Linked DNA regions of Homo sapiens: region 1 is linked to region 2. The links are contacts of gene promoters, found by promoter capture Hi-C in human tissues and cell types (Jung and others, 2019). All regions are on one chromosome and are shown on one strand. The core of a region is centred on a gene start or on the middle of the fragment in contact, and the rest is flanking DNA. Distances in the headings are between cores, read along the strand shown.

Region 1 (6,620 bases), core at 278-2,777, 630 kb after region 2:
TCCGCCTTAAAAAGAATAAATAAATAAAAATAAAAACAGAAAAGTGGACATTGTTGGGTAATTGGAAAAGTTGAATATGGACTATATATCAGAATATAGTATTAAATCACATAACATTTACTGAGCATGATCACATTTACTGTACATTTACTGTACTGTGATACATGCATTGTGTAACAAAGACAGAACGTCTTTGTTCTTAAGAGATAAATGGTGAAAAAAATAAAGCAGGAATGTAGCAGAATGTAAATAATGAGTGAATCTTGGTGAAGGGTACATGCCTGTCCATTACACGATTCTTACTTTTTTTAAGTTTTAAAACTTTTTAAAACTGTCTCTTTTCCTTTCTTTTCTTTTCTTCTTTTTTTTTTTTTTTTTTTGAGACAGGGTCTTGCTCTGTCACACAGACTGGAGTGCAGTGGTGCAATCAGAGCTCACTGCAGCCTTGAACTCCTGAGCTGAAGCAATCCTCCTGCTTCAGCCTCCCAAGTAGCTGGGACTACAGGTGCACACCACCATGCCCAGCTAGTTAAAAAAATTTTTAGTTTGAGACCAGCCTGGCCAACATGGTGAAATGCTGTCTCTACCAAAAATATAAAAATTAGCCAGGCGTGGTGGCGGGCATCTGTAATCCCAGCTGCTCGGGAGGCTGAGGCAGGAGAATAGATTGAACCCGGGAGGCGGAGGTTGCCCTGAGCTGTGATTGTGGCATTGCACCCTAGCCTGGGCCACAGAGGGAGACTCTCTCAAAAAAAAAAAAAAAAGTTTTTATAAAGACAGCATCTTGCCCAAGATGGTCTTGAACTCTTGGCCTCAAGCGATCCTCTGGCCTTGGCCTCCCAAAGTGCTGGGATTATAGGCATGAACCACTGCACTGGTGTAAGCTTTGAAACTTTTCAAAATGAAAAGCTGGAGAATAAAAGAAGCAGAACCAGCCTTTGAAATTGACTCGACCTGGGTTAAAAAACAAAACAAAACAAACAAACAAAAAACAGAGAAGGGGAAGAAGGGAGAAGAGCAGAATGAAAAGCAGTAGCAGGGAAAGACTATGCAAAGGAAAAAAAATATTATCTCTCCTGTGTACTGCTGATATATTATCTGGTCTAAATCTCATAGAAACCATGTGGGGGTAGATAATATCACTCTTTTCTTAGATGAGGAGCTTGTGGTCAGGAGTTCGAATGACATGCCCAAGATCACACAGGACATCCATGGCCGGATGGGATTTAAACGCAAGTCTGATCTCTTTCATTACACTGTTCCTGTCTGCTCCAGAAAATAAGCCATATAGACAACATATCAGGGCCTGGGATTGTGTGAAGGAAAAACACAGGTGGAACACACACTTAGACACACACAGCACATCTGACATGTACTCAAATCCACACAAAGAAAAAGCAAGGGAAGGCCAGGCACGGCGGCTCCGGCCTGTAATCTCATTCCTGGGAGGCCCAGGTGGGCAGATCACGTGAGGTCAGGAGTTCAAGACCAGCCTGGCCAACATGGCAAAACCCCGTCTCTACTAAAAATATAAAAATCAGCTGGGTGTGGTGGCAGGGGCCTATAATCCCAGATGCTTGGGAGGCTGAAGCAGGAGAATCGCTTGAACCTGGGAGGCGGAGGTTGCAGTGAACCGAGATTGCACCACTGCACTCCAGCCTGGACAACAGAGTGAGACTCTATCTCAAAAAAAAAAAAAAAAGAAAAGAAAAAGAAAAAACAAGGGAAGACACGGACACATCAGCGAGAGTCAAACAGAAACCTGCTTTCATAGAGCCACGTTCTCATCTCAAAGGAGGGAGGTGTCTGTTACATCACTGCTTCTAGAAACTTCTAAAACTGGGTTATGTCTTCATAGACATGATGGCGTTTCCGCCTCTAGAACAGATAATGTTAAGCCAAGGTCCAGATCTGGCCATGGCCTTGAGACCTACCTTTAGCTTGGTTAAAAAGGAGATGCAAACAGATGCCTGGATCTAGATGTCTTACTTAATAAACAGGCTGAAGTGGAACTTTTCTGGTAATCACAAGATTTTGAGCAATGATGTAGAAAAATTAATCTTTTCTCTCCTTCCAACTCCAAGCTGGAAATGGAGAAGGAGGAAGTGGGAGAACCTAAAATATTTTAGACTCAATTTTTCATTTGGCTTCAGCAAGGAAGACAATTTATTTTTTACTTTTTAAAAAACTTATTTTTTAAACCAACAGATACAGTTCTATGTATTTATCATGTGAAACAGGATGTTTTGAAGTATGTGTACATTGTTGAATGCTTAGTTCTAGCTAATTAACAAATGCTTTACCTCAGTTATTATTTTTGTGGAGAGAACATTCAACATCAACTGGAAGATGAACATTTTCTAGTGCAAGGAAGATTTTCCTGGGCGATTAGTAAAATTCTTTTACTTAGCATGAGCATATTAGTGTCAAATGGCTTTTTAACTTCCAGGAGCCCAGAGGGGATATTTGCTAAAGATTCCAAGCAATGAAGTAATGAACTTGCTTATTACTGGAGTAATGAAAACCAGGCCTGTCCACTGAGGTTTGGGCATCAGCCCTAGGCAGAGCACAAATTCCAGGCTTTGCTTAGAAGGCAGGATACAGCCACTGGAGAGCTGAAACCACCACTTCATACACTCTCTGAAAGGCTCAATCTACCACAGCCCACGCTAGAACTGGTAGTTGTTTTGTGAGTTGTTTCTAATTGCAAAATAAATCCACAAATTGCTGGAGAACATTAAAAAAAATCACTGAAACCAAAAGGAGAAATAGTGACAACATATTTCTTCTATTCAAGAACATACTTTTTTTTTTTTTTTTTTTTTTTGAGACAGGGTGGCTCTGTCACCCAGGCTGGAGTGCAGTGGTGCGATCTCGGCTCACTGTAACCTCTGCCTCCGGCGTTCAAGCAATTCTCATGCCTCAGCCTCCTAAGTAGCTCGGATTACAGGCATGCACCCCCAAACCTGGGTAATTTTTGTATTTTTAGTAGAGATGGGGTTTCACCATGTTGGACAGGCTAGTCTCAAACTCTTGGCCTCAAGTGATCTGCCCACCTCGGCCTCCCAAAGTGTTGGAATTACAGGCATGGGCCACTGTGCCTGGCCAAGAATGTATGTTTCTATATTTTAGTGCTTCTGAAATCATGATGGTTCACACAGTAGACTATGAAATTTGGCTACCACCAACGGGGGTCACCTATGATGTAGTTTTCCTCAACCATTTATGCGCAAACTGAGTGAAGCAGGATCCAATTGTCATTCAGTTGAGTTATTTGCATTGGTGGTAGAACACACTGCTTAACTATTAATTTAAATTTGGATCACACAACATCATTTTAAAAGCTTTCAAAAAGACTCACAATGAGACAGCGCTGAAATGCAGTTATTATACCATTTAGAGAAGACGGCTGTTCACAGGACAGGCCAGCCAATTAAGACAGCAGAAATTCCCAAAGTGCCCAGATTTTAATTTTCAAAGTCAAGAGAGACTGATGTGGCAGATTTATCCATCATGAAAGATTATCCATTAGGTACCAAATGCCTACCTAGCAAATGCTTCCTGTTGGAATTCAAGAGAAGTTGTTAAACTTCCAGCAATATATAACTCAATAATGAGAAATAAACCAACAAGAAATATAGAAACATTCATGACATTTTTTGATAAACCTAAAAATCATGTTGTGAGCTCTAAAAGTTGTAAGGAACAAGACTAAGGGCTTGAGTAACAAAGAGTTGAGGGTCCTAGCCTGTTCCATATGCCTTAGAATCTTTGTATTGTCAATGTAAAGAAGTGAAGACACACTTCTTTTGTAATCCTAAGAAGAAATGATATGTACCTCTATGAATAACTGTATGCTGTTATCTCTTAAGATCTTTTTCTTTTTGTTTTTGATGAAGTCTCCCCCTGTCGCCCAGGCTGGAGTGCAGTGGTGCAATATCAGCTCACTGCAACCTCTGCCTCCCGGGTTCAAGTGATTCTCCTGCCTCACCCTCCTGAGTAGCTGGGACTACAGAAGTGTGGCACCATGCCTGGCTAATTTTTGTATTTTTAGTAGAGACGGGGTTTCACTATATTGGCCAGGCTGGTCTCGAACTCCTGACTTCAGGTGATCTGCCGGCCTTGGCCTCCCGGAGTGCTGGGATTATACATGTGATCTTGACTGTGCCTGGCCAAGATGTTTTTCAACATTTAATGCATCATCTCTCATGTCCAAAAGAAAATGTGAATGAATGAATGAATGAATGAATGAATGAAACAAACACGATGAGGATACTGAATGTTCTCAAGATGAAAATGAAAGAATGACCTTTGGCTTTAACTGCACAGATACCTCCCTGGTTATCAGTGCAGGAGTGTTGAGGGTAGAAGCCAAACTGAACTCCTTCAGAAGTGGGTGGGAAATAGAGATAAAGACATGAGGAGAAGGTGGGTCCATACAGACCATAGCGATTGTAAAATGCTTTCCTTTCTATTATTGGGCATTATTCCAAAGCCACTTTCATGGCTCCAGGCCTCTTTCCTGTGGATGCACTGCACTATAATTTAATCAGCTCTATTGTTGAAAATGTGTAGCTTGCTCTTCTTTTCAAGATATGATGATCTGAGCCAGATGTTTTCATGTGCAGAAAAATTACATGCGGTGTGGCTCAAGGATAAAACTGGAACTATCAACCAACTCTTGCTTTTCTGTGGGGTGAGGGATTTTCTGTTTTTCTTCCCCCCGCAGCCCCCACCCATCTTGGTCAACGTTCTGCATCTGTCACTGAAAACCCCAGAGGATTAGAGCTGTTAGTAAAAATCCCAGTCAAGTCTGCTAAAGTTTGCATGAATAAGCTCAAACAGGCCGGGCACAGTGGCTCACGCCTGTAATCCCAGCACTTTGGGAGGCCGAGGAGGGCGGATCATGAGGTCAGGAGATGGAGACCATCTTGGCCAACATGGTGAAACCCCATCTCTACTAAAATATAAAAAATAAGCCAGGCATGGTGGCACGTGCCTGTCATCCTAGCTATTTGGGAGGCTCAGGCTGGGGAATCGCTTGAACCCAGGAGGCGGAGGTTGCAGTGAGCCGAGATTGCGCCACTGACCTCCAGCCTGGCGACAGAGCAAGACTCTGTCTCACAAAAAAAAACAAAAAAAGCTTAAACAGTGCAGGTCCCAAGGTGCCTTTTACCTCTCTCTGTTTGGAAGGAAGGATTTACGGTCATTTCTGTGACTGTCTGTATGTCCACAATACATTGGGTGATCCATACCATAGAAAAAACTTTATATCAGAAGAATCTGAGCTACCATATGATTTTTCAGTGACAATCCAGTTTTAATTCTTTTCCTGCATTTCTTAGTAAATATTCTCCCTTCCTCCTCAAAGATGCTACTGACAATATTTTTCACTCTGTTATTTGGAAGCAAGAAAGGAACTGAGTCTTTACCTCCCACATTCAGAATGATTCATTCATTAACATAAAACAAAAAGTAATAGTTAAGATTCCTCCCCAAAATTATCTTGCAGAATTAGCCCCGTGTGCAGTGTGGGGGTCTCTATTTTGTGCACGTATCTCTTGTGATATGTGGGGCCATCTAGGTGAGCTTCGGTCTAGAGGACCACTGAGCCACATGATGCAGACAAAACCCTTGTCCAGAGGCAAGGACAGAGTTCAAAACCCAGCCCTGACACTTATTGGCTGTGTAATCTTGGGCAAGTTATTTAACCTCTCAGTGCTTTAGTTTTTTTTTAATCTTTAGAAAAGGTGTGATGATAAGCTATTTCATGAGGTCAAGGTGAGAATTCGATAAGTTAATGCATGTGAAGTGCTTACAGGAGGCTCTGGCTTAGAACTGAAAGTTCAGTAAGTGTTGCTCTTACTATCATGAAGCCATTGGAACTGCAGTAATCATGGAGCTACCCCAGATGCCTGGACAGATGATGGGCAAGGACGCAGGCTGAGGTTGGTGAGAGATTATGGGCAATTACACAGGCTGAGGTTGGTGAGAGATGATGGGCAAGGACACAGGCTGAGGTTGGTGACTCTGACCGTGGGTTTGGATAGAAGCAGGACGTTGACTATTGCGTGGCATATTATGGATGCTCCTCAACTTACAATGGGACTAAGTCTGGAAAAACCCATCGTAAATTGAAAATATCCCTAAGTCGAAAATGAATTTAATACACCTAACCTACTGCACACTGTAGCTTAGTATAGCCTAACTTAAATGTATTCAGAACTTACACTAGCCTATAGTTGGGCAAAATCATCTAACGAACATATTTATTTATTTACTTATTTTGAGATGGAGTCTCGCTCTGTCGCCTAGGCTGGAGTACAGTGGCACGATCTTGGCTCACTGCAACCTCTTCTTCCTGGGTTCAAGCAATTCTCCTGCCTCAGCCTCCCTAGTAGCTGGGATTACAGGCGCCTGCCTCCACATCCGGCTAATTTTTTTGTATTTTTAGTAGAGATGGGGTTTCACCATATTGGTCAGGGTGGTCTCAAACTCCTGTCCTCAGGTGATCCACCTGCCTTGGCCTCCCAAAGTGCTGGGATTACAGGCATGAAACACTGTGCCCAGTCCGAGCCTCTTTTATAATGAAGAGTTGAACATCTTATGTAATTCACTGG
Region 2 (7,073 bases), core at 1,427-3,926:
CCTCACTGACTCTCACAATACCTAGAATAAAGAAGGTTCCCAGAACATGTTTCTGTTTAATGTGGTGGCCTCCTTACTGTGATCATCCCAGGTCTTGGATCTCCAGGAGATACAGGTAGATGGGCCTCAACACACTTGAGCCCTTATGTTCTAATCATGGTTTAATTATAGTTTCATTATTCCTCAATAGACACAGCAGAATGCATGGGAAGACACATTTCAAAGAATGAATGAACCAGTTTTGGAAAAGGGTTTGATGAGTTTCTTGGTAACTCTTAAAAGGAGAAAACACGTGTGACAGCCTTGAACTGGAATTAAAGAGCTTTATCTGGCCAGGCACGGTGGCTCACGCCTGTAATCCCAGCATTTTGGGAGGCCAAGGCGGGCGGATCACGAGGTCAGGAGATTGAGACCATCCTGGCTAACACAGTGAAACCCCGTCTCTACTAAACAAAATACAAAAAGTAGCCGGGTGTGGTGGTGGGCGCCTGTAGTCCCAGCTACTCAGGAGGCTGAGGCAGGAGAATGGTGTGAACCAAGGAGGCGGAGCTTGCAGTGAGCCGAGATATCGTGCCACTGCACTCCAGCCTGGGAGACAGAGCGAGACTTCATCTCAAAAAAAAAAAAAAAAAGAGCTTTATCTAAGGGATTTGCTAAGGCATTCATATCTCAGTTGATTTTCACTATAAAACAAATATTCCCCTAACACATTAATTTCATTGACATAATTATTAAATGAGGGTATAGGAAAACTGAACCAGGGCATTACTTTAGCCTTAGATAGGCATGGGAGTTCCAAGTGACAACTTTCTAGAGGGTGTCTGCTCTGGATCTGAAATTAATTTCCATATGAATGGGAGATCTTAGCTTTCAATGAACTCCAAGAAACTTTTTGGGGATCCAGCATTTGGCTGATGAATTCAACACCTCAGAGCTGGCCTAACATATAGTCCTTGGGTATCTCTGGTCTATACAAAAACACTATAGTCAACCAAATCTCTACAACTTACCTGGAGAGTGGTGTGTGATTCCTATATCCATCCAGACTGGTAATGTCTTTGGCCTTAATTTCAGGCTGCATTAGGAAATGTCAGAGTCCTCTGTTCAGAGTCAGTGTTCTCCACACTTGAGTATTTTTTGTTTGTTTTTGTTTTTGTTTTTTGAGAGAGAGTCGTGGTCTCCATCCAAGAGTCTCCACTCCAGAGGCAGTGGTGTGAACCTCTGCCTCCCAGGTTCAAGTGTTTCTCCTGCCTCAGCCTCCCGAGTAGCTGGGACTACAGGCATGCACCACCACACCCAGCTAATTTTTGTATTTTTAGTAGAGACGGGGTTTCACCACGTTGGCCTGGTCTCGAACTCCTGACCTCAGGTAATCCACCCACCTCGGCCTCCTAAAGTGCTGGGACTTGACTAGCTTCATAGATCACCTTGGGGAGTGTTGAGGAGACAACATAACTTTCTAGCTGGGGTAGTGTAGGAGGAAAATTCTTGGTGACGATAGTGGAAACCACTCTCCCACATCAAAACCATTTGATCTAGCTAAGCTGGAGAGGCCTGAGAAGTGTTGTTTTGTTTTTGCTCATTTCTCACTTGGCAATAAAGACGCCTGTTCTGGGGCCAGCCACCTCCTCCACAAGGGACCCTAGAGCTGTCCAGAGCTATGGAGGTGCATTCCAGCAGCAATTTCTGCTGAGACTCCACTTGACGTCTGCGTTGCTAATTCCAATTTGTTGTCAAATTATTCAATCTAGGCTGGGCGTGGTGGTTCACACCTGTAATCCCAGCACTTTGGGAGGCTGAGATGGGAGCATCATTTGAGCCCTGGAGTCGGAGACCAGCCTGGGCAACATGGTGAGACCCTGTCTCTACAAAAAATGCAAAAATAGCCGGGCGTGGTGGCTTGCGTCTGTAGTCTCAGCTACTCACTCAGGAGGCTGAGGTGGGAGTATCGTTGAGCCCAGGAGGTGGAGACTGCAGTGAGCCGTGATTGCACCACTGCACTACAGTCTGGGCGACAAAGCGAGACTCTGTTGGGGAAAAAAAAAAAAAAAAGAAGAAAGAGATGTAACCTTGGAAAATCAAAAGCAAAAAATAAAACATAAGGCTGGGCCAAAGGCAGAGGGGTGGGGGAAGGAGGCATGCAGAAATGCGTTCTCATTTCTTCTGGAGAATGTGCATTGGTTTCTCCTCGTAAGTTTGCACTTGACACATATTGCCACGATCTCCGAAATCCTGTGCCCTCTGCACTTGACACATATGCCACGATCTCCGAAATCCTGTGCCCTCTGTTGTTGCATCTGTTAAGTTCTCATGGAGACCAGATGGCACCCAAAGGGACATGGAAGGGGAATAAACTGAGAGATAGGGAGATTCAGAGAGTTTCTTAGGGGAGTTTTCTCGGAGAAGAGGCTTTCAGCATCTTAAAACTCCACGCTACTCCAGTCCCAGTCATGCGTAAAGGCTGCTTCCCCACAGGCGCGAGGCTTCTTTTCGCAAACGTCCTGAACACTCAGCCAGACTCCCACCGACATTTGTTTGACAGGAACGCAGGGCTCGTCCCAGTCGCCGAGATTTGCGAGGTCTGGGCCTTGCACATGCGCATGGAGCACACTTGACCACTGGGCCTTCGTGCGCACGCGCGTGGACCTTGCCATCTGAGGTGCGCATGCGCACTTGTGTCTAGCGGGATCGCTTGCTTGGTAACCCGGAGGGAGAGATTGGAAACCGCGGAGTTTCCTTTGGGAGGCTGCGGCCAGCCGGGGCTGACTTGTTATGTTGGGCTCCGGAGGCCGTTAAGAGCCGAGAGAGACATGAGGTGTCTCTGAAGCCCGGTCGCCTGGGCCATGAAGAAGATTTTTAGTAAGAAGGGCGAGTCGCCCTTGGGCTCCTTCGCGCGGCGGCAGAGGAGCAGCGCGGGAGGCGGGGGCGAGCCGGGGGAGGGCGCCTACTCGCAGCCCGGCTACCACGTCCGAGACCGAGATCTCGGCAAGATCCACAAAGCTGCCAGCGCGGGTAATGTGGCGAAAGTGCAGCAGATCCTTTTGCTCAGGAAGAATGGCTTGAACGATAGAGACAAGATGAACAGGTAATAGGCGTCGCAAGCCCGGACTGAGTGCCACTGGAGTAGGCGGGCAGGAAGAGGGGCCCCTTTTGTGGGAGCCACCCAGGGCCTGGATCAGCCTCCCGCGGGCTCCGTAGCCCCTGGGACGGTGACACCTTGCAGGGCTCCAGCGCCCAGGCCGCCTTTCTGAGCAGAAAAACAAAAACAGAACTCTAGCTGGTTTCCGATCCCCCCGAAATCCCTTAGAGAGCACTTAAGTGACAATTTTAAAGTGAATTAACGAACAAAAGCACGTACAGCGTTTTATTTTTAATGTACACATTTAAGATACAATGTCATACACTTATGGAAAGGTGCATAATGAGATAAGCAGTTTCCATAATATAGCAACTTCTGGGTTAAAAATTATTTCTATAAAATCTGTTATTCGTCAGGCGCGGTGGCTCGCGCCTGTAATCACAGCACTTCGGGAGGCTGAGGCGGGAGGATTGCTTGAGGCCAGGAGTTCAAGGCCAGCCTGGGCATTATAGCGAGACCCCCCCCCCCAACTCTAATAGTCTCAGCTACTTGGAAGGCTGAGGCAGGAGCATCACTTGAGCCCAGGAGTTCTAGGCTGCAGTGAGGTATGTCAGTGACAACAGAGCAAGACCCTATCTTTCAAAAAGAAAAAGAAATAAAATGCCTTTAGGAAATAGATATACAAGTAATTTGTTTTTCTCAGCATTGCTTAAGCAGTGTATTAAGGAGAACCCATAGAATGGATTTTGTGAATAAATGTCAGTGCATGATAATATGTGACCATTGAAAGTGGCAGTAGAGGCCAGGCGTGGTGGCTCGCGCCTGTAAACCCAGCATTTTAGGAGACCAAGGCAAGCGGATATCCTGAGGTCAGAAGTTCGAGACCAGCTTGGCCAACATGGTGAAACCCCGTCTCTACTAAAAATACAAAAATTAGCTAGGCATGGTGGTGGGAGCCTGTAATCTCAGCTACTCCGAAGACTGAGGCAGGAGAATCGCTTGAACCTGGGAGGCAGAGGTTGCAGTGAGCCAAGATCGTGCCATTGCACTCCAGCCTGGGCAACAAGAGCAAAACTCTGTCTCAAAAAAAAGAAAGAAAGAAAAGAAAGTGGCAATAGATACAGAAGTGTATTGGCATGTGAGGATATACTTTGGTATCTCAAGTGAGAAAAAAAGTTTGATTATACATACAGACTGTGGTCTTGTGTTAGCTGAAAATATGTACAAAACGTGGTAAAATTTGGCCAGGCGCGGTGTCTCACGCCTGTAATCCCAGCACTTCGGGAGGCCGAGGCGGGCGGATCACGAGGTCAGGAGATCGAGACCATCCTGGCTAACACAGTGAAACCCCGTTTCTACTAAAAATACAAAAAAATCAGCCGGGCATGGTGGCGGGCGCCTGTAGTCCCAGCTACTCCGGAGGCTGAGGCAGGAGAATGGCGTGAACCCGGGAGGCGGAGCTTGCAGTGAGCGGAGATCACGCCACTGCACTCCAGCCTGGGCGACAGAGCAAGACTCCGTCTCAAAAAAAAAAAAAAGTGGTAAAATTTGTTATTTCTGGGCATTTGTATAATAAGTCAAACTTTTTTCTTTATGATTTCTGCAATGAGTATGTATAAAAGTTCTAGTGAAAATTTATTATTAATGAAGTAATCCTTGGGAAGAGAGGAATATGAATCTTGCACAGATAAAAATCATTTCCCACTTTCTTTTTTTTCTTTTTTTGGTGGATTGCTATCGTCTGACAACTTTTATCCTTTTCAGAAGTAAAGGGGATCTTGGCTGGGCACCTGTGGCTCATGACTGTAATCCCAGCACTTTGGGAGGCCCAGGCAGGAGGATTGCTTGACCCAGGAGTTCGAAACTAGCCTGGGCAACATAGCAAGACCCTGTCTCTATTAAAAATGAAAGGTAAAGCAGATCTTTGTTCTTGCCACCAAAAATTAAGAAGATAAAAAATAAAAATAAAAAAAGAAAAAGTAAAGGGTATCTTTTTATCTGTATTTATAGATTTTATGTATACATTTTATCATATACATGTTTTTATTATAGATTTATTATATATGCAAACAGGTACAATCATTTTATTTTAGTTGTGTCCTTATGACAATAAAAATACCAAATATAAATGATAATTAGGCTGGATGCAATGGCTTAGGCCTGTAATCCCAGCACTTTGGGAGGCTGAGGAGGGTGGATCACTTAAGTCCAGGAATTCAAGACCATCCTGGCCAACGTAGTGAAACCCTTCTGTAGTAAAAATACAAATATTAGCCAGGTGTGGTGGTACACACCTGTAGTCTCAGGTACTTGGGAGACTGAGGCAGGCAGTAGAATAGCGTGCACCTGGGAGGCGGAGGGTACAGTGAGCTGAGATTGCACCACTGCAATCCACCCTGGGTGACAGAGCGAGACTCCATCTCAAAAAAACAAAACAAAACAAAACAAAAAAAAGATAAATATTATTGCAAAAGAATAAAAGAATTACTCTACTTTATAAGAATTTTATTTAAAAATATTGAACTCCCTAATGATTTTTCCATTCTTTCAATCCATTTATTCATCAATCATAACCTGAATACCTGTTATGTAGCAGACATAGTCTACTATCTCTTTTTTCTTTTTTTCTTAGACAGAGTCTCCCTCTGTTGCCCAGGCTGGAGTGCAGTGGCCAGATCTCAGCTTTACTGCAACCTCTGCTTCCTGGGTTCAAGCGATTCTCCTGCCTCAGTCTCCTGAGTAGCTGGGACAGCTAATTTTTTTTTTTTTTTGTATTTCTAGTAGAGACAGGGTTTCACTGTGTTAGCCAGGGTGGTCTCGATCTCCTGACCTTGTGATCTGCCCACCTCGGCCTCCCAAAGTGCTGAGATTACAGGCTTGAGCCACCGCGCCTGGCCTTTTTTGTTTTTGAGGTGAAGTCTCGCTTCTTCGCCCAGGCTGGAGTGCAATGGTGTGATCTCGGCTCAATGCAACATCCATCTCCTGGGTTCAAGCAATTCTCCTGCCTCAGCCTCCCTAGTAGCTGAGATTCCAGGCACGTGCCACCATGCCTGGCTAATTTTTGTATTTTTAGTATAGATGGGGTTCTACCCTGTTGGCCAGGCTGGTCTCAAACTCCTAACCTCAAGTGATCTGCCTGCCTTGGCCTCCCAAAGTGTTGGGATTACAGGCGTGAACCACCGCTAGTTATAAGCATATTAATGTAAGTGCGTAGTATTTTAATAAAATGTGGTAGAATATAGACTTGATCTTTGAATTGGAAACATAACAGTAGTGGACATGAAGATTTGCAGAGCTGATTTTTTTTTCTTTTTTTTTTTTTTTTGAGATGGAGTCTCGCTCTGTCTCCTGGGCTGGAGTGAGTTGGCATGATCTTGGCTCACTGTAACCTTCTCCTCCCAGGTTCAAGCAATTCTCGTGCCTCAGCCTCCCAAACAGCTGGGATTCCAGGCACCCACCACCATGCCTGGCTATTTTTTTTGTATTTTTAGTAGAGACGGGGTTTCACCACGTTGGCCAAGTTGGTCTCAAACTCCTGACCTCAGGTGATCTGCCTGCCTCAGCCTCCCAAAGTGCTGGGATTACAGGCATGAGCCACTGCACCAGGCCAGAGTTGATATCTTTGAAGTGAGGATTTTACTTCTATGCAAATTCTTTTCTGTCAGAGGTGAATCCCTATTTTAGTCATGAATATGATATTTATTCCCCTTTCACAACAGGAACTTCATATATATGTATATAAGTGCTGTGTGGTGTTCTAAACTATTTCAGTCTTGCATTAGCATTGTAATACATAATGTAGCTAATCTGCTATGAATTTGGGAATGCATTTTATGACAAATTTACAGAGCTGTCAGGGAAGATGGAAAGTTGCTGATTTCTCATATAAAACTGTCTTCATAGAGCTTGATGTGAATCTCCTGCACTTCTGGAAGCAGGTATTTAACTCATCCCCAGGAAATCAAGCCTGAGAGAAGTTCTGGTGAGCTGCTTG

Evidence for each region. The method cuts DNA at HindIII sites, captures the fragments that hold promoters and counts their contacts. A contact is called where the count stands out against the background at its distance.
Region 1: a fragment that was not itself captured here is called in contact with the fragment with the promoter of ANKRD26 in region 2 in 1 of the 25 tissues and cell types used here (lymphoblastoid cells).

The regions. Positions count from the first base shown.
Region 1 is chr10:26,470,207-26,476,826 of GRCh38, reverse strand. The region is part of intron 2 of APBB1IP (amyloid beta precursor protein binding family B member 1 interacting protein); the gene reads right to left. Among named protein-coding and RNA genes, the nearest start is that of APBB1IP, 35 kb to the right of the region's middle. The HindIII fragment of the contact is 5,435 bases long and covers 1-4,244 here.
Region 2 is chr10:27,096,097-27,103,169 of GRCh38, reverse strand. ANKRD26 (ankyrin repeat domain containing 26) reads left to right here and starts at 2,676. Exons shown (of 34, transcript NM_014915.3): 1 at 2,676-3,085. The coding sequence starts at 2,844. RefSeq lists a silencer at 2,830-3,009 and an enhancer at 3,180-3,239. The HindIII fragment of the contact is 17,734 bases long and covers 1-7,073 here.